Linked DNA regions of Homo sapiens: regions 1, 2, 3, 4, 5 and 6 are each linked to region 7. Evidence: promoter capture Hi-C in 16 types of primary human blood cells and fetal thymus (Javierre and others, 2016). All regions are on one chromosome and are shown on one strand. The core of a region is centred on a gene start or on the middle of the fragment in contact, and the rest is flanking DNA. Distances in the headings are between cores, read along the strand shown. Region 1 holds the start of TFB2M (transcription factor B2, mitochondrial). Region 2 overlaps SMYD3 (SET and MYND domain containing 3). Region 3 holds the start of SMYD3 (SET and MYND domain containing 3). Region 4 holds the start of SCCPDH (saccharopine dehydrogenase (putative)). Region 5 overlaps SCCPDH (saccharopine dehydrogenase (putative)). Region 6 overlaps SMYD3 (SET and MYND domain containing 3). Region 7 holds the start of KIF26B (kinesin family member 26B).

Region 1 (3,138 bases), core at 587-3,086, 1.4 Mb before region 7:
ACTCCCGGCAGCAAGTGATCCTCCCACCTTGGCCTCCCAAAGTGCTGGGATTACAGGCATGAACTACCATACCCAGCCACCACAGTGTTTTTTTTAAAAAGTCAGAAATTCAACGACACATTTCTATGAGTGAACCATGAAGACATAATTCTATTTTATCTGATTTAAAAATATTTAGGACTCCAGGTCCTGGAGGGGGAAAAAAGTGTATTTCTGAATCTATGAAAATGTTTTTTAAGGGGAGAGGGGGAGGCAGCTCAGTAATGGAGAGAGGTTCAGAGGATGCAAAGTCACCTCTAGAAAATTGTCAGTGAGAAAACTGTACGAAAAAAGAATTTAAGCAAATTAAGACCAATGAGTGAGTCCCCACAGTTTGCACAACAGTTGATGAGATATTTTCTATGATGTCCTAACAAATTTATAATACACAAAAGGTCATATTTAGTTGTCAATTCTTTATCCGCTTGAGCTTCATCAGATGAGTATAATCTTCAGACTATTTGCTGGGTGATACATTCCTTAGGAACCTTTTCCTCGTGCATTTAAATGCCAAACTCAATTACACTCTCAGTAGAGTAAGCAGAAAGGATTGTACGTATTCTAAGACACGGAGTTGATTGGCTGCCGTTTCTTGCCTTGGTGGTAAGGATAATGGGTAAAAGCTCTAAGTTTGATCCTGAAACACGGAAAACACTCTCAAAGAACCGTGTCTTCTAACATTGCCCAATAGGTAAAAAAAAAAAGACTGCCAAAATTTCCATTACAGCATCCTATTTTTAGTCTTCAAAATTGGGTCTTTTAAATCGCATTCCACAGTACGATGTGTTTGACTAAGTTTACATAAGGAATACAGTAAGCATCCTAAAGTCTTAATCTTTTTAAGCTTAGAAAGGAATTGTAAGCTTTTACATCTTCATTTTTAATCTTAACTTTAAGTCTTTTAAACACACAAACTGAAAAAATTAAGGAAAATATTGGCCCAGAGAGAGGAATGGAAGGGAGACACCACGCGGTTCTTGACAACCAAAGTGGTAGTGATGGGGGGGACCAGGTGTGGGGGGGAAATGAAAACCATCCACGAGGGTGGGGAGAGCGGGCTGTGGGCCACACAACAGAAAGGAACGGAGACCGTGGAAGCCGCAGGCTCCTCCAGGAGCCGGGTGAGGAACGACTTCTGGCGCTAGTCCCCTAGGGAGGGAGAAATTGGCGCGACGCGCAGCAATAGGAGACCCACAGTAGCTGAGAAAGGAGAGGAAAACAGGCGACCTGAGAGGCGGAGGAGGTAAGGGGACCGGGCTACACCTCACCCGGAGGGCAGAGGCTGCGCGGCTGGAGGAGGACAGCGCAGGGGGAGGAGCGAGAGGCTTCCGAAAGGCTTTCCATCCCGGCCGCGAGCCGGCGGGTCCCCTGCATCCCGCTCCTCCTCTCCTCACCTGGGAATCGGAGGCGCAAGGAGGGCTACCGCTGGGCGCCGGGTCTGTTTCCAGCCCCACTCGGCGACATGGCGGCCGACGTGCTGTCACGGAGCTTGCTCGGGTCTCCCCTGGCTCCGGTGGAGGAGACACCTCTCGCCTTTCCGCCCCGCCTCCCTCTGCGCACCCCTCGCGGCTGGCCGGCTGGAGGCTGGCGGCCCGCGACCGCGGAGCATAGAGCACTGGCGGCTAGAGAGGAAGCGCAGAGCGCGGACAACCATAGAGTACGAGTCCGGACACCAGCCGGATGGTCGGTCGCTCTCCTCAACGGTCCACTCACAATCCTCGGGCGGCTGAGCCGAGGCGGAAGCGGAAGTGAGGGAGAAAAGCAGGAAGGCTCCGCTGTTCGCATGCGCAGGCTCTAGTGTTTACTTCCGCTTGACCTGGCCCGGACGCCAGAAAATGTTCCACGTGGGATACCCTGCGTGGGGTTCACTGTAGTAGCTGCACTAGGTGATTCTTGGAGCGGGCCTGAGAGACAAGGACATGTGGATCCCAGTGGTCGGGCTTCCTCGGCGGCTGAGGCTCTCCGCCTTGGCGGGCGCTGGTCGCTTTTGCATTTTAGGGTCTGAAGCGGCGACGCGAAAGCATTTGCCGGCGAGGAACCACTGTGGGCTCTCTGACTCCTCTCCGCAGCTGTGGCCCGAACCGGATTTCAGGAATCCGCCAAGGAAGGCGTCTAAGGCCAGCTTAGACTTTAAGCGTTACGTAACCGATCGGAGATTGGCTGAGACCCTGGCGCAAATCTATTTGGGAAAACCAAGTAGACCTCCACACCTACTGCTGGAGTGCAATCCAGGTGAGTCCAGCTGAATTGCATTTTCTTGGATGTTCATCATTTATTCAAACGTATTGACCCTCCTCGGGGTGCTATTTTAGATACTGGGGGGTCTTTTTTGTTGTTCTTTTGCTTTGAGACGGAGTCTCGCTGTGTTGCCAGGCTGGAGTGCAGTGGGGCGATCTCGGCTCCCTGCAACCTCCGCGTACCGGGTTCAGGCGATTCTCCTGCCTCAGCCTCCCGAGTAGCAAGAACTACAGGCGCGCGCCACCACGCCCAGCTAATTTTCTTATTTTTACTAGAGACGGGATTTCGCCGTGTTGGCCAGGATGGTCTCGATCTCTTGACCTCGTGATCCTCCCCCCTAGGTCTCCCAAAATGCTGGGATTAGAGGCGTGAGCCACTGCGCCCGTCCAGATACGGGTCTTTGTTTGAAGCTCCTTAGTTGGAGAGATTGCCCACTACATAAGCGTAGAGTCTGTATCGTTAATGACACCACAAAGTATTTCTGTAGCAGCTTGCACTTTACACAATATTTTGATAAAACATGCTCTTAGATCTTATCTCCCCAAAAGAGTTGCAAGCCTCTGCCAGCTGAAAAAATGATGTTATCTTATTCTTCCGTGCATTCCCTATAGACCATAGCAGGATGCTAAGAACACAAGATTTATAGGCTTTTTGAATGATAGTTTTTTAAAGCACCATTTCATATCACAGGGAGTCAGTTCTGTTTAGGCTTGACAATCTCTTTGATGGTTAAAGCATCCGTGTAGTCCGTGAGGAAGTGATAGGCTAGAGGCAATCTATTTTGCTGTGACTTTTTTCTTCTAAGAGGTAGTGAATCATGGTGATGAAGAGTGCAAGTTTTGACCTGGTGCGGTGGCTCAC
Region 2 (2,976 bases), core at 305-2,804, 1.3 Mb before region 7:
GAAAGTGTGAAGACCCTGGGAACTGTGGATGAGGGGAGTTCATACCCACCTGTAGGCTTTTTCTCCAAAAACTCTACCAGGTGCTCCCAAAAAGACAGGTGAGATTCCTGAGAAAGCATTCTTTGTCTCTAGGAGAAGAGCAGCTGCTGCAGATACAGTAAGAAACTCTGAAATCCCAGCACTGTGGGAGGCTGAGGTGAGTGGATCACCCGAGGTCAGGAGTTCGAGACCAGCCTGACCAACGTGGTGAAACCTTGTCTCTAATAAATACAAAAAATTAGCTGGGTGTGGTGGCGGGTGCCTGTAATCCCAGCTACTTGGGAAGCTGAGGCAGGAGAATCGCTTGAACCCGGGAGGTGGAGGTTGCAGTGAGCCGAGATTGTGTCACTGCACTTCAGTCTGGGCGAGAGTGAAAACTCTGTCTCAAAAAAAAAAAAAAAAAAGAAAGAAACTCTGGCAGGACCCTTATTCCCTATCGTCCTTTTCCCTTCTACTGAATGAAAGCAGAGAAAGGACAAAACAATGACCATTACCTTTGGGGCTCTGGTGAAAACCCTTTACACCTGGGGAAAATAGAAGTAATAGAAGTAAACCTGCCCTTGGGGGCGGGAGCATGTTGGGTCACAGATTGGAGGAGACTAACGAAGCAGGACATCTAAATACATCTTTACCTTGTGGAACAGAAAAAGAACATGATTTAGGCAAGACACCTGCCTAAATAACTGATCATTACTCTTCAAAAGTATCAAGTGTCAAAGACAAGGAAAGACTTAGGAATTATGACAGATCGGAGGAGACTAGGGAGGCAGGAACCTAGATACTTTCTATGTATTACTGTGGTGATGTCAATGTTAAGGGAAGCTGAGTGAAGGGGTAGATGGGAATCCTCTGTGCTATTATTGTGACTTTTATGTAAGTGTAAAATTATTTTAAAATCAAAGGGGAAAACATTGTAGGCCCCCCTTTTAAACTGCTGCCTGAGATAGTCTATAAGAACAAAGTTCTTGCCTTCAATTATTGGAGATTGAAATTTGTAACTTTTAGTTCACTTTAGGAAAATTAGGTTCTTTTTTTGTTTAAGTCCATGTTTCCATGAAGGAAGATTAGGTTCTTTTTCAACTTTCTTCTATTGTTGTATAGTTTTTTTTTTTTTCAAATAAGAAAGAATGGTTCATAGTTTTTCTCCCGACACATTTCATAGCCTTTATATTTTCTCTCTCAAGTGGGTGAAGGAAATTTGAATATGTAACTACTACCCACTGAAAGCTTCTGGTTTAATAATTTTAAAAAAACTTGCCACCTATTTCCAACCCATGTTTTCATTACTGACCCAGGAAATGTTGAGTAACAACTATGTGAGAAGTACTGTGCTGGAACCCGTGATACAAAGACTATTAAGGTCAGTGTCTGCCCTCGATAAACCTTCAGGGAAATGTAGCAAAAACTCTAATAGAGGGAAATTCAAATGCCACGTGGGACATTCTAATTAATGTAGCTTCATTTAGCGTGTTTTGTCCAGTTTCCTTGTATCTTCTCCTTGGAATTCTTGGAATTCTTGTATCTTCTCCTTGGAATTCTTGGAATTCTTGTATCTTCTCCTTGGAATTCTTGGAATTCTTGTATCTTCTCCTTGGAATTCTTCTATCATTTAGAGTCTCAACGCTATTACTCTTCCCTTATTCCCCCTTCCTCATTCAAGCTATTTTGGAATTCTCAGGAGTTCCTGATGTTTTCCTAACTTAGAGAAAAGCAGTGGCTTTGTCCTGACTGTTCCTTATCTAGTATTACAGTTACTCAGAATACCTCTTTGCGTAACACACTACCCTTACCAAAGAAGCTTCAGAGTCTGAATATAAAGTTTTCACTTAACATTTTGCTGCTTTGTTTTGTTTATTCCATGGTCTCTTCATAGAATAAAACAGTTAACTTATGAAATCCGTGAAACCTCTTTGGAAAAAAATGTATATACATTTTGCAATAATTTCAGATAATCACAAACACATTCTTTAAAAAAAAATAATTTCAACTTTTATTTTAGATTCAAGGAATACATGTGCAAGTTTGTGGCATGGGTATATTGTGTAATGCTGAGATTTGAAATAGGGATGATCCTGTCACCCAGGTAGTGAGCATAGTACCCAATAATTTTTCAATCCTTGCCTCCTCCTTTCCTCTTCTCCTTTAATAGTCACCAGTGTCTATTGTTGCCGTCTTTATGTCCAGCAGTACCAGTGATTAGCTCCCACTTATAAGTGTGAACTACATGTTATTTGGTTTTATTGTTTTGCATTAATTTGCTTAGGAGAATAGCCTCCAGCTGTTTCCATGTTGCCGCAAAGGACATGATTTTGTTCTTTTTTTATGGCTAAGTATTCCATGGGGAGCAGAATACTATTCCACACACACCCCATGTTTTCTTTATCTAAACCACTATTGATGTACACCTAGGTTAGTTCCGTGTTTTTTGCTATTGTGAGTAGTGCTGCAACAAACATATACGTACATGTGTCTCTTTGGTAGAACAATTTCTTTTCTTTTGGATAGATACCTACTAATGGCATTGCTGGGTCAAATGGTAGCTCTGTTTCAAGTTCTTTGAGAAATCTCCAAACTGCTTTCCACAGTGGCCGAACTAGGTTACATTCCCACTAACAGTGGATAAACGTTCCCTTTTCTCTGCAGCCTCGCCAGCATCTGTTCTGTTTTGACTTTTTAATAAAAGCCATTCTGACAGGTGTGAGATGGTATCTCATTGTGGTTTTGATTTGCATTTCTCTGATGATTAGTGATGTGGAACATTTTTTCATGTTTGTCTGCCGCTTGTGTGTCTTCATTTGAGAAGTGTCTATTCATATATTTGCCCATTTTGTATTGGGGTCATTTGTTTTTTGCTTGTTGAATTAAGTTCATTATAGATTTTGGATATTAGACCTTTGTCGGATGACAAATAGACAAATTCACAGTTTGTGAATATTT
Region 3 (3,088 bases), core at 365-2,864, 1.4 Mb before region 7:
AGGGCCTTGGCTCTGCCACCTCGACTTGGAATGTTCTCAGCTCCCTCCAGGCTTCTAGAAGCATCTGGGACACAGCTCATGGCTGGATAAGCACCCGAGGCCCCACAACCCAAACAAGCTTCCCATCCTCATTTTATTTTTTGTCAAACTTATGAAAATTTATTAAGATATGACTTACATCCCTGGTAAGTGCACAGCTTAAAAGATATTCACAGATGGAACACACCAGCCCCCAGATCACAAAGCCAACCATGCCCAGCCCCTCCCAACACCCCCAGCCCTGAAACCAGTGTTCTGACTTCTGACAGCACCACGAGCCTGCCTTTTGTACTTTACACTCATGGAAGCATAACCACCTTCATGTTTTAAAATAAATGTTTACTTTTGAAATGACTTTAGATACACAGAAAAATTGAAAGGCACTATAGTGTACTCCTACACCTTCCATCCAGCTGCCCTTAATAATGACATTTTGCATTACCATGGCACGTTTGTCCAAACTAAGAAATTTAGGCCGGGTGGGCTGGGCGCGGTGGCTCACGCCTGTAATCCCAGCACTTTGAGAGGCCGAGGCGGGCGGATCACAAGGTTAGATCGAGACCATCCTGGCTAACACGGTGAAACCTCGTCTCTACTAAAAATACAAAAATTAGCCGGGCGTGGTGGCAGGCGCCTGTAGTCCCAGCTACTCAAGAGGCTGAGGCAGGAGAATCGCTTGAACCCGGGAGGCAGAGGTTGCAGTGAGCCAATATCGTACCACTGCATTCCAGCCTGGGCGAGAATGAGACTCCGTCTCAAAAAACAAAACAAAACAAAACAAACCCCAAAAACAAAAAAGAAAATTAAGCTGGGTGTGGTGGCTCACACCTGTAATTCCAGCAATTCGAGAGGTCGAGGCAGGAGGTTCAGGTTCACTTGAGGCCAGGAGTTTGCGACTAGCCTGGGCGACATAGGTAGACTGTCTCTGGAGGAAAGTAAAAAGCATTAGCCAGGCATGGTGGCGTGAGCCTATAGTCCCATCTAGTCAGGAGGCCCAGGCGGGAGGATTGCACATGCCTGTAGTCCCAGCTACTATGGAGGCTGAGGCAGGAGAATCGCTTGAACCCGGAGGTCAGAGGTTGCAGTGAGCCGAGATCTCGCCACTGCACTCCAGCCTGGGCGACAGAGCAAGACTCCGTCCTAAAACAAAAAAAAGTTACAGTGCAAAGTACTAGTTGTGATGTCATGATGCCTGCAACTTTGAAATAGTTTAACGACAATACGTGTATACATAGCTACAGGTGGGGAGAGAGTGACGAGCAGAAATGGCAAAGTGCTAGGTTGTCTGATTTAGGCGGAGGTATATAGGTGTTCACTGCACTGTTTTCAACTGTTCCGTATGCGTTAAAATGATCGTAATACAATGTTAGAGGGAGAAAAAAAACCCCGCCTGTCTTCTGCGCAGTCGCCATGGGCACGAGCCGCACGCGGAGCCTTACGACCACCTTCAGGTCCCACACACTCCACTCCAGCCGTCCCTCCAGACTCCATCTGCGCATGCTCTTGCCCCACCGCGCCCGCCCCGCCCCTCGGGCGTACGTGTGCGCGCAGGGCGCAGGCGCGCGGGTCCCGGCAGCCCGTGAGACGCCCGCTGCTGGACGCGGGTAGCCGTCTGAGGTGCCGGAGCTGCGGGAGGATGGAGCCGCTGAAGGTGGAAAAGTTCGCAACCGCCAAGAGGGGAAACGGGCTGCGCGCCGTGACCCCGCTGCGCCCCGGAGAGCTACTCTTCCGCTCGGATCCCTTGGCGTACACGGTGTGCAAGGGGAGTCGTGGCGTCGTCTGCGACCGCTGCCTTCTCGGGTGCGTAAGGAGCGCCCTCGCCTACCTGAGTCGCGAGCTGTGTGGGGTGCTGGGGAGGGGGGGGCGTCGGGCGGCCGGCAGCCGCGGGACTCCTGCTGGATGGGGCTGCACAGGCAGCTTGGCGGTGCTGCCCCTGACGCGCGTGTGCCCGGGGGCGGGTCGCTGCTGACAGGCCCCGCCCGGACACCCCCCTAGGTTGCCGCAGCGGGGCTGGGAGGGGGCCCAGGCTCAGCCACTGCCCCCCAACCTGGGCTGCGGTGGAAATGGGAAAGCCATTGGGCAGACTTGAGGGGGAAGCGTTGTGCCGGGGATAATTTTGCTGGGAGACGAAAAGTCTGTGTGCTGGACAGTCTTCCTTGGTGCGGCTGTGGAAATCACACGTGGCGGGCGTGGGGCTGGGTGGGAGCTGGGATGAGTATAAATCAGGCTCCCCTGCAGAGGCCCCGCCGGTAAAGCATCAGGCTTGCAGCAGGTGGAAGAATCTTGATGTCTACGGTGCACCTCTGTGGTCTGGGTTGTGTGTGGCCTGGGGATACGAAGAGGAACGGGACCTCCTCAAAGAGCTGATCAAGTGAGAGAGAGAATTACAGTGTACCAGAAGGGCTGAAATAGAGGGGCAATTAATGTGCTGTGGGAGCATCAGACACGGGTCCCCCGTGTGCTGTGCCATTTAATGGCTGTGCAGGCATGTCTAACTCTTAACCACCATTCTAGATGCAGGGATTCACGTGAAGGTGTTTTGGAAGCCTGGACGCGCTGTGCCGGTGTAAAGTGCTATGTGAAAGCAATTTATGGAAATGTGTAACATACATGAATAATAGGAACTGCATTCAGTCAACAAATATTATTGAGCTTCTGTGTGCGAGGAAGAAGAGTTCTATTTTGAGATGAGTGCGATGATTTTGTGCATGGCCGCTTTTCAGACCTGCCAGTCTGAGATTTAGGTGGGTGGAGGTGGGACGGTAAGTGCAAAACTCGTATCTGTAATTTGACCATTGTTCTTACTTTGTTCTCATTTGATTCATAATTCAGGAATATGACTTTGCATTTTAGAGCTACCAAATAATAATTTTGTCTGTTGCTTTCTGAAGTAATGATAACAGCGAAAACATCTGTTCGGGAGAGAGCAGCATCTTGAAGTTTTTGTAAACTGTGTGGTTGAAAACAATTCGTTCCTTTCAAGATAGTTCTTGGAACAGAAAAGTTTTGGAATGAATAAATGGTGACAAATTGGCAATTGAATCATTAG
Region 4 (3,183 bases), core at 618-3,117, 1.6 Mb before region 7:
GCAGAATGAGAACTTGTCTTTAAAAAAATAAAGTTTCTCATCAACCACTAAACAATTACTATGATCCAATTGTAGGTGATGGAGAGTTTCGGACTGACTGTTAACATCAAAACCATCAGGGCTGGGTGCAGTGGCTCACGCCTGTAATCCCAGCACTTTGGAAAGCCGAGAAGGGTGGATCACGAGGTCAGCAGATCGAGACCATCCTCACTAACACGGTGAAACCCCGTCTCTACTAAAAAAATTAGCAGGGCGTGGTGGCGGGCGCCTCTAGTCCCAGCTACTCAGGAGGCTGAGGCAGGAGAATGGCAAACAAACAAACAAAAAACAAAAAATTAGAACTCTGAGGTGAAAAGCACACGCTATATAAACACACACAGGCTCATAAGAAAATAATTGGAATTAACTGGCTCAACTAAGTGATGCAGGTTTCAATAGGTGAAGGTATATCCCCCCACAATGAAACTTGATTTGGGCATTATATATGATAAGTGACTAGGCTGTACCGGTACGATCTTGCTGAGCCGAAAAAAGAAATGGAAGCATATATTTTCATAGTAAAATTACTTCTGTTGGAAAAATAACGACCAAAAAGCTCTTTGGTCAGAATTACGTGTTGGTAGTGTCAGCACCAAAAGCTGTAGGAGAGTCCAGCCTACGTGGTGTCTTCTGTACATAACCACGAACAAAAGCACTCCGAGCAGGGCATTGTATGAAAGTAGATTAAACAGAAAGAATGTAGTATTTCCAGAACTCTAATGGGTGTCTGTATAAGGGAAATCTACGGGAGTTAATAGCCAAATTTAAAGGCTACGGAGTCGTAAGTCAGATGTCTCCCCAGCCATGAAGGCAGCAGGATCCGTGTGTCTGTCTCCTCTCTGTCCCATCCTGCACCCCAGACTCGGGACAGGTCTTAGCATGGACAACGTCACTCAATAAATATATGCTCCTTCAATGCTTAGAGAATCAATAAATATATGCTACCTGAATGCTTAGATTATCAATAAATATATGCTACCTGAATGCTTAGATTATCAATAAATACATGCTACCTGAATGCTTAGAGAATACGTAAGCGTCTAAACCAGAAATACACACTTTTTATTCTCTGAAGAGGAAGACTGCTGGAGTATTCTTACACACAAAACAAGAAACTAAAACAGAATAGCCACAAAGACACTGTCAGTACAACTCGTAAGCTTGCTCTCCCGTCCTCAAAACACGAGGCAAAGGGAGACTCCGATCTCCAAGAGACCAAAGCCCTCCTCTCCTCTCCGACCAAACATCTAGAAACCCGCAGATTCAACAGGTGCCCCCGCTGCGGGGCAGGATGAAGCAGAGAGAGGGACAACTCAAGTTCTTGACCATTTCGCCAGGGGAGCTCCCCAAACTGAGGCAGAAATGCAAAAAGCGGGAAAGAGGAGAAGGAAAGAAAAAAAAATGTGTGTGTATATTATACACGCACGCGCACACACACATATAGTTAAGGAGGTGGGACAAAGCTATGGCAGTATTTGAAACATCTCTCCCTCTCCTCTTCTTGTCCTCACGCAGGGCTCGGGGACACGTAGGGCGCATCCCTGCGGGAGAAACGCTCGTTTGGGGCGATGCGGGGTCCCCGGCCCAGCCGCCCGCGCAGCCCCGTCCCGCCCCGCCGCTGTACCCAGCTTCAGGGCCGCCTTCTCCAGCACCCGCTGCAGCTTCTCCCGGGAGCGGCCCGCCACGGCCCAGGGCAGGCGGGAGCTCCGCTCCGGGTCCACCTGCTCCCGGGCCACCTCCTCGGTCACGAACTGGCCGGTGAAGCCAGACGCGCCGAACACCACCAGGTGGAAAGGCCTCTGCTCGGTCGCCATGACGAGTCCACAGCGAGCCCAGGCCCCGGGGCGGGTGGAGTCCACGGCGCCTGCGCCTCAGGCAGCGACCCCAGTACCCGGCGCAGCAACGGCCGCCGTCGCCGCAGCCAGCGCGCCGGGCTCCCTTCACCCCGCGCGCGCCGCCGCGCCAGGGCCGCGCCCACGCCCACGCCGCCTCGCGCGGGAGCCGCGGGTGAGCGGCTTGCTTGGGAGGCTTCCGACGGGAGGTTTCCTAGGGCGGTGGCCCTGGGGGCGAGTCCGCTTCCAAGCCTGGCAGGCGCGGACGGCGGCCCCTAATTCCGTGCGGCGGTTTGTTCTGCAGGGCTCTGGCCGCCCCGGGCAGCGCATCTTCTAGCCCTGCTGGAAGCTGGAGGCGGCAGCCGGTTGTCCTTGTTGCACGTGGGGGTGGAGCAAAGAGTGCGAGAAAATCTGCGGATGGCCTCGGGGATGGCCCACCCCGAGAACCCTTGAGCTTGCTTGCTTTCTTCCTTTCTTTCTTCCCTTTTTTCCCTTTCTTTTCTCTTTTCTGTTTTTGAGATGGAGTCTCACTCTGTCGCCCAGGCTGCAGCGCAGTGGCGCGATCTCGATTTACTGCAACCTTCGCCTCCTGGGTTCAAGCGATTCTGCCTCAGCCTCCCGAGTAGCTGGGATTACAGGGGAGCGCCCCCACGCCCTGCTAATTTTTGTGTTTTTAGTAGAGATGGGTTTTCACCTTGTTGGCCAGGCTGGTCTCGAACTCCTGACCTCAGGTGATCCACCCACCTCGGCCTCCCAAAGGGTCGGGATTACACGCATGAGCCACTGCACCCAGCCCATTCCTGATTTTTAAAAACTCTCATTAAAATAGGAATAAATGAATGCTTTTAAAAATTTTGAAATATATGTCTTGCAAAAAAGGTACAGCCAATAACAAATATGTACCCTCAACACAGCTTAAGAAAAATATTCCAGATAGCGAGGCTTCCAGGTATTCATTCCTGAACACATTTCCTTTTGCGTCCCCAAGACGGCCACTTGCCTGAATTTAGTGTTTATTATTCCTATTCCTATCTTTCTGCTTGTTATATATGTATGTATTTATAAATATTATAGTACCGTTTTGCATATTTTGAATATTTTGTAAATGTCAATCCTGCAGCTTTCTTATTTGGTCATGATGTCGTGAACTTATTCCCAAATGATTCAGAATAAAAAAAAATGTCTGTGATACGTGTGTGGAGAGAGGGAGAGAGAGAGAAATACACCAAATTCTACAATGCTTTTGTACAATGTTGTATAGTGCTTTTGTGCAATATAATACAAAGAATGCTACAATAAAATTCTTGTACCT
Region 5 (3,087 bases), core at 451-2,950, 1.6 Mb before region 7:
CAACCTCTACCTTCTGGGTTCAAGCAATTCCTCTGCCTCAGCCTCCCTGAGTAGCTGGGATTACAAGGCATCCGCCACCAGGCCCAGCTAAATTTTGTATTTTTAGTAGAGACGAGGTTTCACCATGTTGGCCAGGCTGGTCTCAAACTCCTGACCTCAAGTGATCCACCCGTCTCGGCCTCCCAAAGTCCTAGGATTACAGGCATGAGCCACCGTGCCCAGCCCAAAGACAGACTTCTAATAACAACAGTAGTGATGACGTTGAAACTTAGTAAGTGCTTACACCATGTGCCAGGCACTAATCCAAGTGCTAAACATGTTAGCTCATTTAATTCTCACAATAATTCGATGAAGTTGAGTAACATGCCCAGGCCACTGTAAGCACAGAGGCTGATGCCAGAGCCTGCATTCCTAACTGTGATGGCCTGCTGCCTGACGGTGCAGGACTGTCCCTGGGAGTCCTGGCTGACATGCAGAAAAAATCAGGAAGGAGAAAATAAGGGGCGACAACCTCAATCCTTGCTCCCTAAAATATGAAGTTAAGGAAGGTCAAATAGGATGACGCCGAAGCTGCACTGGCAGGAGAGGCTGTCAAGGGCTCCAAAAAGGAACCTCTAGAAAGACAAAGGAATCTGGGCTAGTGATTTCAGCTTAAGAGCAGGGTCCAAGGATTCGTAAGGGAGGCATGGGTTTTGCTTGCAGCTCAGGTCCTGACCACATACACAAGTGAACTAAAAAAACTGCTGTAACCCTGGAACCCAAGCGTGGAGCACCTCGTGGTGACAGCCAGGACAGGGCCAGCAAAGGCATCACGGAATCCTGGGAAGACTCTGTCAGTGAGACCCCGTAACAGTAGAGGCTAGGCAGACTCCAGTCCTCTGGGCCTGGCCACTGGGAGCAGGAATGGCTTCTGTCTCTTGAACTGAGCCTCAACATTTTGGACAATTAGCAGTTTACTCACCTGAGGTGAGTCATATACTTTCAGCAAATGGGAGCAGGCAGAACCTTGGGGGATTAAAAGGAAAATCAGGATGAGACACACATGTACCTCAAGCCAGAGGATGGGGTCACACTGCTACCTTCAGAATCAGAGTCAATGCTCGAGCATACATTGCAAAGCTAGAAACAGGGACAGGATATGCAGCTTCACCCAGCGGTTCCCAAATGCATATCAAAAACACAGAGGCTTCGACCTCCCGCCCTCCTGAACGCAAGTTGCTGCAGGCACGGAGGAACCTGTTACTGTTTCGTGATTCAGATGTGCAGCTAGTCGTGGGCTCTATTGCTCCTGTACTGCTTTCTAATTTCACAGCCGATAAAACCTTTTCTAAGGTCCCACAAGTTAGGGCACAGCTGAGGATCTGTATCTTGTGATGACCAGGCCAGGACAGAGGAAGCAGAGTTAGGGTGGGGAATACTACCACCAAGAACACCCTCTTCGAGTTAGATACCCCCCGCTTCTTCTTACAGGCCTCTTTGAGTTAGATACCCTCCCCCACTTCTCCTTACAGGCCTCTTTGAGTTAGATACCGCCCCCTCTTCTTCTTACAGGCAGAGCAGAAGGGTCTCCCAACACAAATAATATTCCTAAATATTTTATGTTCCTCACTTTTTGGTAGAAATTCCATAAAGGAGTGGCTGTCTTGTTTAGGTAATGAACAACATGATTGCTATGTATATACGTGTTTATTATATGCTTATTACAAAAGAAAAAGTCTTTTGCCTTATTTTAGGGCTTCCATGTAAAACCTAGTTAAAATACAAAAAGTAAATTAGAGAAAAATTCTGCTTAGGTAGTGAAAATTGATAGCAACTTATAAGCTGTATCCTTAAAAACCTAGTCACAGATATAGAATTACGTAAAGATAAAATGATAAGCCTACTTATTGGCAAGAAACAGGTTAGGCCACTTAAGCAGCATGTTTCTACCACTATACAAATACATCGGCAGGTCCAAACATTAAACCACCATTCGATTGACAACCTTTTATTTTTCAACTTAGGTAACAGTCCAAAATCAGTGTAGATTGGCGAAAAACTAGGCAAAAATAGCAAAAAGTGCAGTTTAATTTAGCAAAGGCTCAAGACAGTATGTGGAAGGAAGGTGAGATTTCCCTCCTACTGCGGCAAGGCAAGCGGCAGTTACTGCCCGACAGTAACGATGGTGTGCGCACCCCCGATGAGAATGCTGCTGCAACACAGACTGGGACGCCGCCTCCCCCATTAGACCTGCCAGCTCATTCGTGAAAATCTACCAGGAACACATCAATGAAAAAAATATGTCAAATATGAGTTCTCTGTTATAAGCAATAAAATCACAAAATCAACTCAGATTTGAAATTTAGGGTAAGCTAGGACAATTTCCTACTTTTTAATATATAGATATTTTAGATTTGACAATCGTTTCCACATACACTCAGACAGGCTTACAGAAGAATTTCAAATATCAAATAGAGAAGCTGTTAATTCACGCACGTTATGACTTCAGTTAATTCTTCCAGTGTTTAGACTTCAGAGCTGCTAATAACACTAAACTCAATACCGTGTTTGTTGAGTCTGTCAATCAACTTTGTTTTGGAAAAAGCTGCTCCAGGTGTGAAGACCCCGCCCCTATAAAACAATAACAAGAGAAAACAGTGCACTCAGCTCCTCTCCAGTCTCCTATTTCACAGGCCTCACTATCAAATTGCTACAGAACCCCTGAAAACCCAAGTCTTCATGGTAATCACGGCTACCTTTGATTCCTTCCTAAAATCAGCCAAATGAGCAAGTAGCTATTAGTCAGGAGAAACTTGCACCACAGCCAACCCTATCTAGACTGGCTCTGTTCCTGGAGATACTGTTTCCATTCTATGCATGTGTTTGGTGGGTGCACTGTGCGCCATCACCCCGAAGAACCGCTGCTGTTTACAAGGACAGTCCTCAGACTTAGGGGGATTAAAGAAAGACCCGAATGGAATAAATTTAGATAATCAATTATTATGAAAGTGTAAACAGAACTTAAATTGGATGAAAAAGAAGTTTTTAAAAATATAATAGCTAACATTCATAAATGCTAAATATTTTCAAGGGGGACCTAGGTATTTG
Region 6 (3,100 bases), core at 110-2,609, 1.3 Mb before region 7:
CTACATTCTTGCCAAGCTCCCTGGGTGACGCTGGTACTCATAAAATTTTGATACCTGTTTACCTACAGGATGGAGACGCATTCCTTTTGCAATCTGTCTTCTGTCTACTTTATTGGTCTTATTGGCACTAAAGTTTGAGGACACTAGGGCTAAATCCATAGTAGTTTTATATGAATATTTGCAGCAGTTGTAAATAACAGCCTGCTTAAAATCTCTATTTTTATTTTTTCTTTTGAGACGGAGTCTCACTGTGTCACCCAAGCTGGAGTGCAGTGGTGCGATCTCGGCACACTGCAACCTCTGCCTCCTGGGTTCAAGCTATTCTCCTGCCTCAGATTCCCCAGTACCTGAGACTATAGGCATGCACCACCACACCTGGCTAATTTTGTATTTTTAGTGGAGACAGGGTTTCACCAGGTTGTCAGGGCTGGTCTTGAACTCCAGACCTCAGGTGATCTGCCCGCCTCGGCCTCCCAAAGTGGGATTACAGGCATGAGCCACCACGCCCAGCCTAAATCTCTGTTATTTTTTTCTGTGCTTAGCTTGGACTTTTTCTGAGCACCCTTCACTTTCTTCTGTTTTTGCTTTTTGACTGAATTTCTTGAACTTGACCTTTCTGTATCAGAGATCTATAGTAATACCTTTCTTCTGTTAGTTTCAGTCAAGATGTACAAGTCAAGCTGGCAGATGATTCTAGAAGTCTATTTTAAAATGCCCAGACTTCTTTTTAATGAAATTACCTGTGTAATAACTACCTTTAATATAATAATTTTTCGGTCACAGATCAAATACATGGATTTAATTGTAGTTTGGAGCCCAACTTTTAATGAGCAGGATTTAATGAATGAGGCACTTGTGGAAGATCAGTTTATTACGAGGTCACATGATTCATGTGGCCACCATGCATAGGAAATGCTAAAAGGGAGGGCCAGGCGTGGTGGCTCACACCTGTAATCCCAGCACTTTGGGAGGCTGAGGCATGCAGATCACCTGAGGTTGGGAGTTCGAGACCAGCCTGACAAACATGGAGGAACCCTGTCTCTACTAAAAATACAAAATTAGCCGGGCTTGGTGGTGCATGCCTGTAATCCCAGCTACTGGGGAGGCTGAAGCAGGAGAATCACTTGAACCCAGGAGGCAGAGGTTGTGGTGAGCTGAGGTCGCGTCATTGCACTCCAGCCTGGGCAACAAGAGTGAAACTCCATCTCAAAAAAAAAAAAAAAAGATCTGAGTGGAGCCTAAGTTAGACACTGGGCATGGTTTTCTGCAGTAGGGTGAAATTGCTTGTAACTATTTTTCTTGTATTTTGAGACTTCTGTTTTTTTACATTTTCTTTCTATAGATGAACACATTCTTTGATTGTCTCCTGGTTGTTTAGGGTGGTGCTCACTCTTTCAGGTACTCAGAACATTGTATCTTTTATCACATTTACCACCTTGTATTTTAACTTTTTTTTTTTCCAGACAGAGTCTTGCTCTGTTGCCCAGGCTGGAGTGCAGTGGTGCAATCTCGGCTCACTGCAACCTCCACCTCCTGGGTTCAAGTGATTCTCTTGCCTTAGCCTCCTGAGTAGCTGGGACGAGTAGCTGGGATTACAGGTGCGCACCACCATGCCTGGCTAATTTTTGTATTTTAAGTAGAGATGGGGTTTGGCTATATTGGCCAGGCTGGTTTCAAACTCCTGGCTTCAAGTGATCCACTCGCTTGGCCTCCCAGAGTGCTGGGATTACAGGCGTGAGCTACCATGCCCAACCATATTTCAACTATTTGAACCAGTAATTATTAAATACTTTTTTTACCTCCTCTGGAAGCTCTTGGATGCAGGTATTGTGTCTTGTACCGTCAATGTCTACCCATTCTGACTGTTCTTATTTAAACAAAATTCTTCAGTATAGTTCTAGACCATATTTTCTATTAGTATAGGTGGGTAATTTTATTTATTTTGTTGTCTTGGAGACCAGTGGATCTTTTGCTTTCCTTATATGTCCATGGGCCTACCTTTTTGAACAGTGTTATGCTCCTCTAAGTCTTATCTCCTTTCTTTAAATGTTGTATATTGGAGAACTATACCATTGCTTTGATCATCAATGAGAATGAGTATGATGAGTGAATTAGTTTTTTTGGGGGTGGTGAGATTACTTTTTTTGAAGATCACTTTTTAATTAGTATTATTCATCTGTTTGTCTACATGGTATACTGAAAAATAGGACTGTACTTGGAGAAGTAAGTCTTAGGTTTGAGCGCTGCTTCCATTTGCTAGATTTGTGACCTTGGGCAAATCACTTAATCTCTTTGATTTTCATTTTCTTCATCTACAGAATGAATGAAATGGGGTTATAATTCCTATCTGTGTCATAGGATTTTAGTGAAGAGCAAATGACTTAATCCAGAGCATTATATAAATGTGAGGTATTATAATCTTCACACTTATCCCTGAAATAAATATTTTAGAGATTAAATATCAATTCAAGAATTGGAGTGGGGTTTCAATTTTTCACTTTTGGCCTAAAAGGTCAGAAGTTCAGGTAGTTATTAGATGAATATCACCTATACTTGGGTATGGAATCTTCTATTATTACCCATTCTAGAGGAATTTGAACCTGTTAATACTTATGTCATATCTGTTAAGGAGCTTTGTTGTCAGATAGATTCTGGTCCAGGTTCTGATGATGCCGTTTACTAATTTCATGAACCTGCAAACTGACTAGCTAAACCTTAGTTTTCCCATTGGTAAAATGGGGTTAACAACAATAATAAAAACAACCTTATAAGATTAGTTAAAAGAACAAATGAGATAATCTATGATAAAGTGTTCAGCATCCAGCGTAAAGCCTGGGATATTATATGTGACTGATAAGTAAGCAGTAATGATACATTTTACTCAGTATAGAGGAGGATGATGGTCAACACTTAAGGAATACTTGCTTTCTGTCAGGAATGAGTCCATGGGCTTTAGTGTGCATTATCTCATTTAGTCTTGCAAAATCTTCTGAGGTCTCTCTTTATATTATTCCTGTTTTACAGATAAGAAAAGTGAAGTTCAGAGAAGTTATATCTTGCTCAAATTATGTAGCTAATTCTGTCTGCACTCAGAGCCCAT
Region 7 (2,980 bases), core at 226-2,725:
ACGAGCTCGGGGACGAGGTGCCCGAGCCGGGAGACGGGGTCCCCGAGGAGCCGAGCGCTGAGCCCGCGCCCTCAGGAGTGGGCCGGCTGCCGGCGCGCGACTCCTCGTATGCTTTCCGGTACCAGCTTTCCGGGGAGAAGGGCGCTGCGGGCTTGGTGGGCGAGCAGACTTCATTCACCTGCGGGGAAGACACGCCGGTGTCAGGGGCTGCAAGGCGGCGGGCTGCAGCGCCCAGGAGCTGGGTCATACGTGCGCCACCAAGTACCCGCTCGAACCGCCCACGGGAGTCGGTTGGGGACCTCTCCAAGCCCTGCGGCCAAATTGCCCTCCGTCTGTCTCGTTAATTGTCCTTAAGTGAGTCCCCACCGCCCAGGTGACCCCTGCGCTGGTCCCCGGTGGCCTCCTCCTGGGGTCAGGAAGGGGACTCGCTCGGGGCCGTTTCCACGGCTTCTGCAAGGCGGGGGGGATCCATAGGTTCAGCGCCCCACGCTTTTGAAGCCGGCACCTATCCCAGCAAGATCCCGGGAACAAAATCCTGGAAGACCCTATGGGGGGGGTAGGGGGAGGGCTGTGATTTCAGGATTTTTATTCATACGGGGTCCAACTCTCCGGATCCTGCAGGTAAACGAGAGGCTCTCACGGCTCCAGCTAAACGATCCGAGGTACTGCCCAGCATTCATGGGAAACCCTCCCCTTCGGCTTCACTCTGCCTAGAAGTGCAGGAATGCGGCAAAAGTTACGGGTGCGTGGAAAGGAAGGAACGAGAGGGCTGAAAAAATTCCGAGAGCGAGGCGAGCGTGCGGGCGTCCCCGCGGCCGACCCGCCTCCGCGCACTCACAACCCCGCCAGCCCCGGGGGCGCCTCTGCAGCGGGGGAGAGCTCGGGGCCGGGGCCGCACGATCCCGGGGAAAGGGGGACCTCCGCCGAGATGGGTCTGGTAACGCGTCTCCGCGTCGTACCGTCACAACTTACCCCGTATTTCTTGCCCCTGGTGGAGACCGCAAGCCTCTCTTTATTCCCAGCTACCGAATTCATGGTGGCTTTTCCAGAGGAGAGTATCTAAAGGTTCCACCGACGCTACATCCAGAAGGTCCTCCAACCCAGAAGCGTCCCCCGGCTGCAGGGGGCTGGCTCTCAGCCCTCAGGGCAAGGTTTCTTCAGCGGTGGGGTGGGAGGGAATGAAAGCAAATGGATCCCACAAGTAATAGCACCAATTTGCAGAAAGGGTTGGGGTCGCTGGTTTATTCTTCTCTTCAAAGCATGCTTTTCCTCGTCCCCTTCTGCCTCTTCCAGCCGCACGTCCTCTTGTCACGGCCACATCCACAGAACTGGCATTTTCTTCAGCCAAGTCAGTCCGTGCTCCCCCACGAGGAAAGCGAGGGATACAATCAGGGCTCGCGGCCGCTGCCGGGAAGGTGGGAGAGCCGAGCCGAGTCAGCTGTGGGAACTTGTCTCCTTCACCGAGCTTGGTAACTGAGTTCAAAGAAATTCTCCCAAAATATAAAGATCCAGACTCGGGGAGGAGCCTCGGCGTGTCGCCGAGCCAATATCCGCCGGCCCGTTTCGCCTGACAGTTGCGCGAGGGCCGGGAGAGGGGCGGCTCCGCGTGGCCCGGGAGCGGTCGGCGGTCACAGCGCGCGTGTGCGCCCGGGCGCAGCGCGGAGGAGCCTCGGGAACCTGCCGCCCTCGCCGCGCCGGCCGGGATCCATTTTATGTGGCGGCGCTCGTGCCTGACATTGCGAGGCCTGGAGCCGGGCTGGGGCTGGGGGCGGGGGATCGTCGATCTCGCCGCGTGCGGGGAAGTTCCTGGCGCGCGGCCCGGGCCCGGGGCTCTAATGAAACGCCGCTGCGCGAGCCTGGAGCCCGGGGGCCGCGCGAGCGAGCGTGGCTGGACGGAAATGCGGTGCCCCAGCCTCCCCCGCCCCCAAGTTCTTTCTCTTCCTGACAAGGCTTGCAGGTCTGTCTGTGAAACGCCGTGCAAAAGGGATTGAGTCACAAACAAGTCCACAAACATGCCGGGTCCTCCCCCCGCCCTTTGTTCTCGGAGAGCTGCCGGGCAAACCTTTTCTGGAATTGCCCTACCGACCCCGGGCCGGCCGGGGGGCCACCCTCCCCGACCGCAGCCGCAGGACTAGGGCCCTTGGTCCCCCGCCCGCCCGAGCCCCGGTCTGTGATGGACTAAGCCGCCCGGGGCTGGGACAGGTGAGCCTGGTGACCCAGCGGGCCGCTGCCGGGCAGGGGAAACTGAGGGCTTCGCCGCGCTGCACGCGGACGACTCTGGCCTGGAGAGGGGGTGTGGCGCGAGCTGGCCTTGGCCTCTCCTTGCGTGGGATCGGGCCCCTCGCCCCCCGCCGCCCGTTTCTTCCTGCGCCTGGGCCCCGCGGGGTCTCCGGAGCACCCCGTCATCGCTCCCTCTCCGATCGCCCCCCGCCCCAGTCCCCCGGCGCAGCGCCCAGGAGCGCAGGAAGCCGGCGTATGCCAGGCTCCACACGTGGCTGCTCTGGGGTGTCATTTTTCATTTCACGGGAGGACATTTCTTCTGGTGAGCCAGCAGGTCTGTTTTGTTGTGACCTTTAATTAACACCCCGCGAGACGCCTCTGGAAGGACTGGCCGGGCGCAGGGATCACGTGGGGTGTAACGGCATCTCCGCGCCCGCGGGGAGACCCAGCCCGGGGGTGGGCGAGGGCGCGAAGGACGTTCAGGGCTTTCTGGTCGCTGACTTCCTTCTGAGCTGTGGACGACGCAGGAGGGGGCAAGAAGACAAAGGTTCGGGGTTCTGGAAGCCTGGGGCCACGCCCCCACTCTGCCTTCCTCGGGGACAATTTCTTCTGTGCCTCCCGTGCTCTGCCCCACTCCTCCCCGCTCCAGCTCCTGCGCGGGAATATTTCACAGCCACCAAAGCGAGGTAAAAAGGTCAAAAGGAAGATGGCAAGAACAGAGTGGACGTTTCCGTTACGTTCCCACTTCCAATTTAAAAGC

The links. The method cuts DNA at HindIII sites, captures the fragments that hold promoters and counts their contacts. A CHiCAGO score of 5 or more calls a contact.
Region 1: the fragment with the promoter of TFB2M here is called in contact with the fragment with the promoter of KIF26B in region 7 in 3 of 17 cell types (fetal thymus, total B cells and naive CD8 T cells); the score reaches 16.1 in fetal thymus.
Region 2: a contact is called between a fragment that was not itself captured here and the fragment with the promoter of KIF26B in region 7, in 4 of 17 cell types (M2 macrophages, megakaryocytes, M1 macrophages and 1 more). The highest score is 9.3, in M2 macrophages.
Region 3: the fragment with the promoter of SMYD3 here is called in contact with the fragment with the promoter of KIF26B in region 7 in 16 of 17 cell types (total B cells, fetal thymus, M1 macrophages and 13 more); the score reaches 34.3 in total B cells.
Region 4: a contact is called between the fragment with the promoter of SCCPDH here and the fragment with the promoter of KIF26B in region 7, in 5 of 17 cell types (total B cells, fetal thymus, activated CD4 T cells and 2 more). The highest score is 18.0, in total B cells.
Region 5: a fragment that was not itself captured here is called in contact with the fragment with the promoter of KIF26B in region 7 in 1 of 17 cell types (total B cells); the score reaches 5.8 in total B cells.
Region 6: a contact is called between a fragment that was not itself captured here and the fragment with the promoter of KIF26B in region 7, in 11 of 17 cell types (endothelial precursors, M2 macrophages, M0 macrophages and 8 more). The highest score is 12.2, in endothelial precursors.

The regions. Positions count from the first base shown.
Region 1 is chr1:246,564,959-246,568,096 of GRCh38, reverse strand. It overlaps TFB2M (transcription factor B2, mitochondrial), which reads left to right and starts at 1,836. Exons shown (of 8, transcript NM_022366.3): 1 at 1,836-2,271. The coding sequence starts at 1,959. CNST (consortin, connexin sorting protein) reads right to left here and starts at 1,641. Exons shown (of 11, transcript NM_152609.3): 1 at 1,434-1,641. RefSeq lists enhancers at 1,037-1,536, 1,577-1,636, 1,867-2,146. The HindIII fragment of the contact is 6,532 bases long and covers 905-3,138 here.
Region 2 is chr1:246,434,368-246,437,343 of GRCh38, reverse strand. The region is part of intron 1 of SMYD3 (SET and MYND domain containing 3); the gene reads left to right. Among named protein-coding and RNA genes, the nearest start is that of SMYD3, 71 kb to the left of the region's middle. The HindIII fragment of the contact is 571 bases long and covers 1,269-1,839 here.
Region 3 is chr1:246,505,805-246,508,892 of GRCh38, reverse strand. It overlaps SMYD3 (SET and MYND domain containing 3), which reads left to right and starts at 1,614. Exons shown (of 12, transcript NM_001167740.2): 1 at 1,614-1,839. The coding sequence starts at 1,676. RefSeq lists silencers at 755-987, 1,477-1,656, 1,927-1,976 and enhancers at 1,662-2,162, 2,163-2,663. The HindIII fragment of the contact is 10,729 bases long and covers 121-3,088 here.
Region 4 is chr1:246,723,093-246,726,275 of GRCh38, reverse strand. SCCPDH (saccharopine dehydrogenase (putative)) reads right to left here and starts at 1,867. Exons shown (of 12, transcript NM_016002.3): 1 at 1,664-1,867. The coding sequence starts at 1,853. RefSeq lists silencers at 1,514-1,723, 1,824-1,893, 1,934-2,063 and an enhancer at 2,274-2,433. The HindIII fragment of the contact is 2,865 bases long and covers 1,202-3,183 here.
Region 5 is chr1:246,766,718-246,769,804 of GRCh38, reverse strand. SCCPDH (saccharopine dehydrogenase (putative)) reads right to left here. Exons shown (of 12, transcript NM_016002.3): 12 at 1,668-2,610. The coding sequence ends at 2,505. Among named protein-coding and RNA genes, the nearest start is that of LINC01341, 21 kb to the left of the region's middle. RefSeq lists a silencer at 1,044-1,338 and an enhancer at 826-1,484. The HindIII fragment of the contact is 7,322 bases long and covers 1-3,087 here.
Region 6 is chr1:246,485,820-246,488,919 of GRCh38, reverse strand. The region is part of intron 1 of SMYD3 (SET and MYND domain containing 3); the gene reads left to right. Among named protein-coding and RNA genes, the nearest start is that of SMYD3, 20 kb to the left of the region's middle. The HindIII fragment of the contact is 4,168 bases long and covers 1-3,100 here.
Region 7 is chr1:245,153,480-245,156,459 of GRCh38, reverse strand. KIF26B (kinesin family member 26B) reads right to left here and starts at 1,475. Exons shown (of 15, transcript NM_018012.4): 1 at 973-1,475; 2 at 1-178. The coding sequence starts at 1,035. RefSeq lists silencers at 1-66, 1,934-2,133 and enhancers at 1,988-2,663, 2,664-2,980. The HindIII fragment of the contact is 4,692 bases long and covers 1-2,980 here.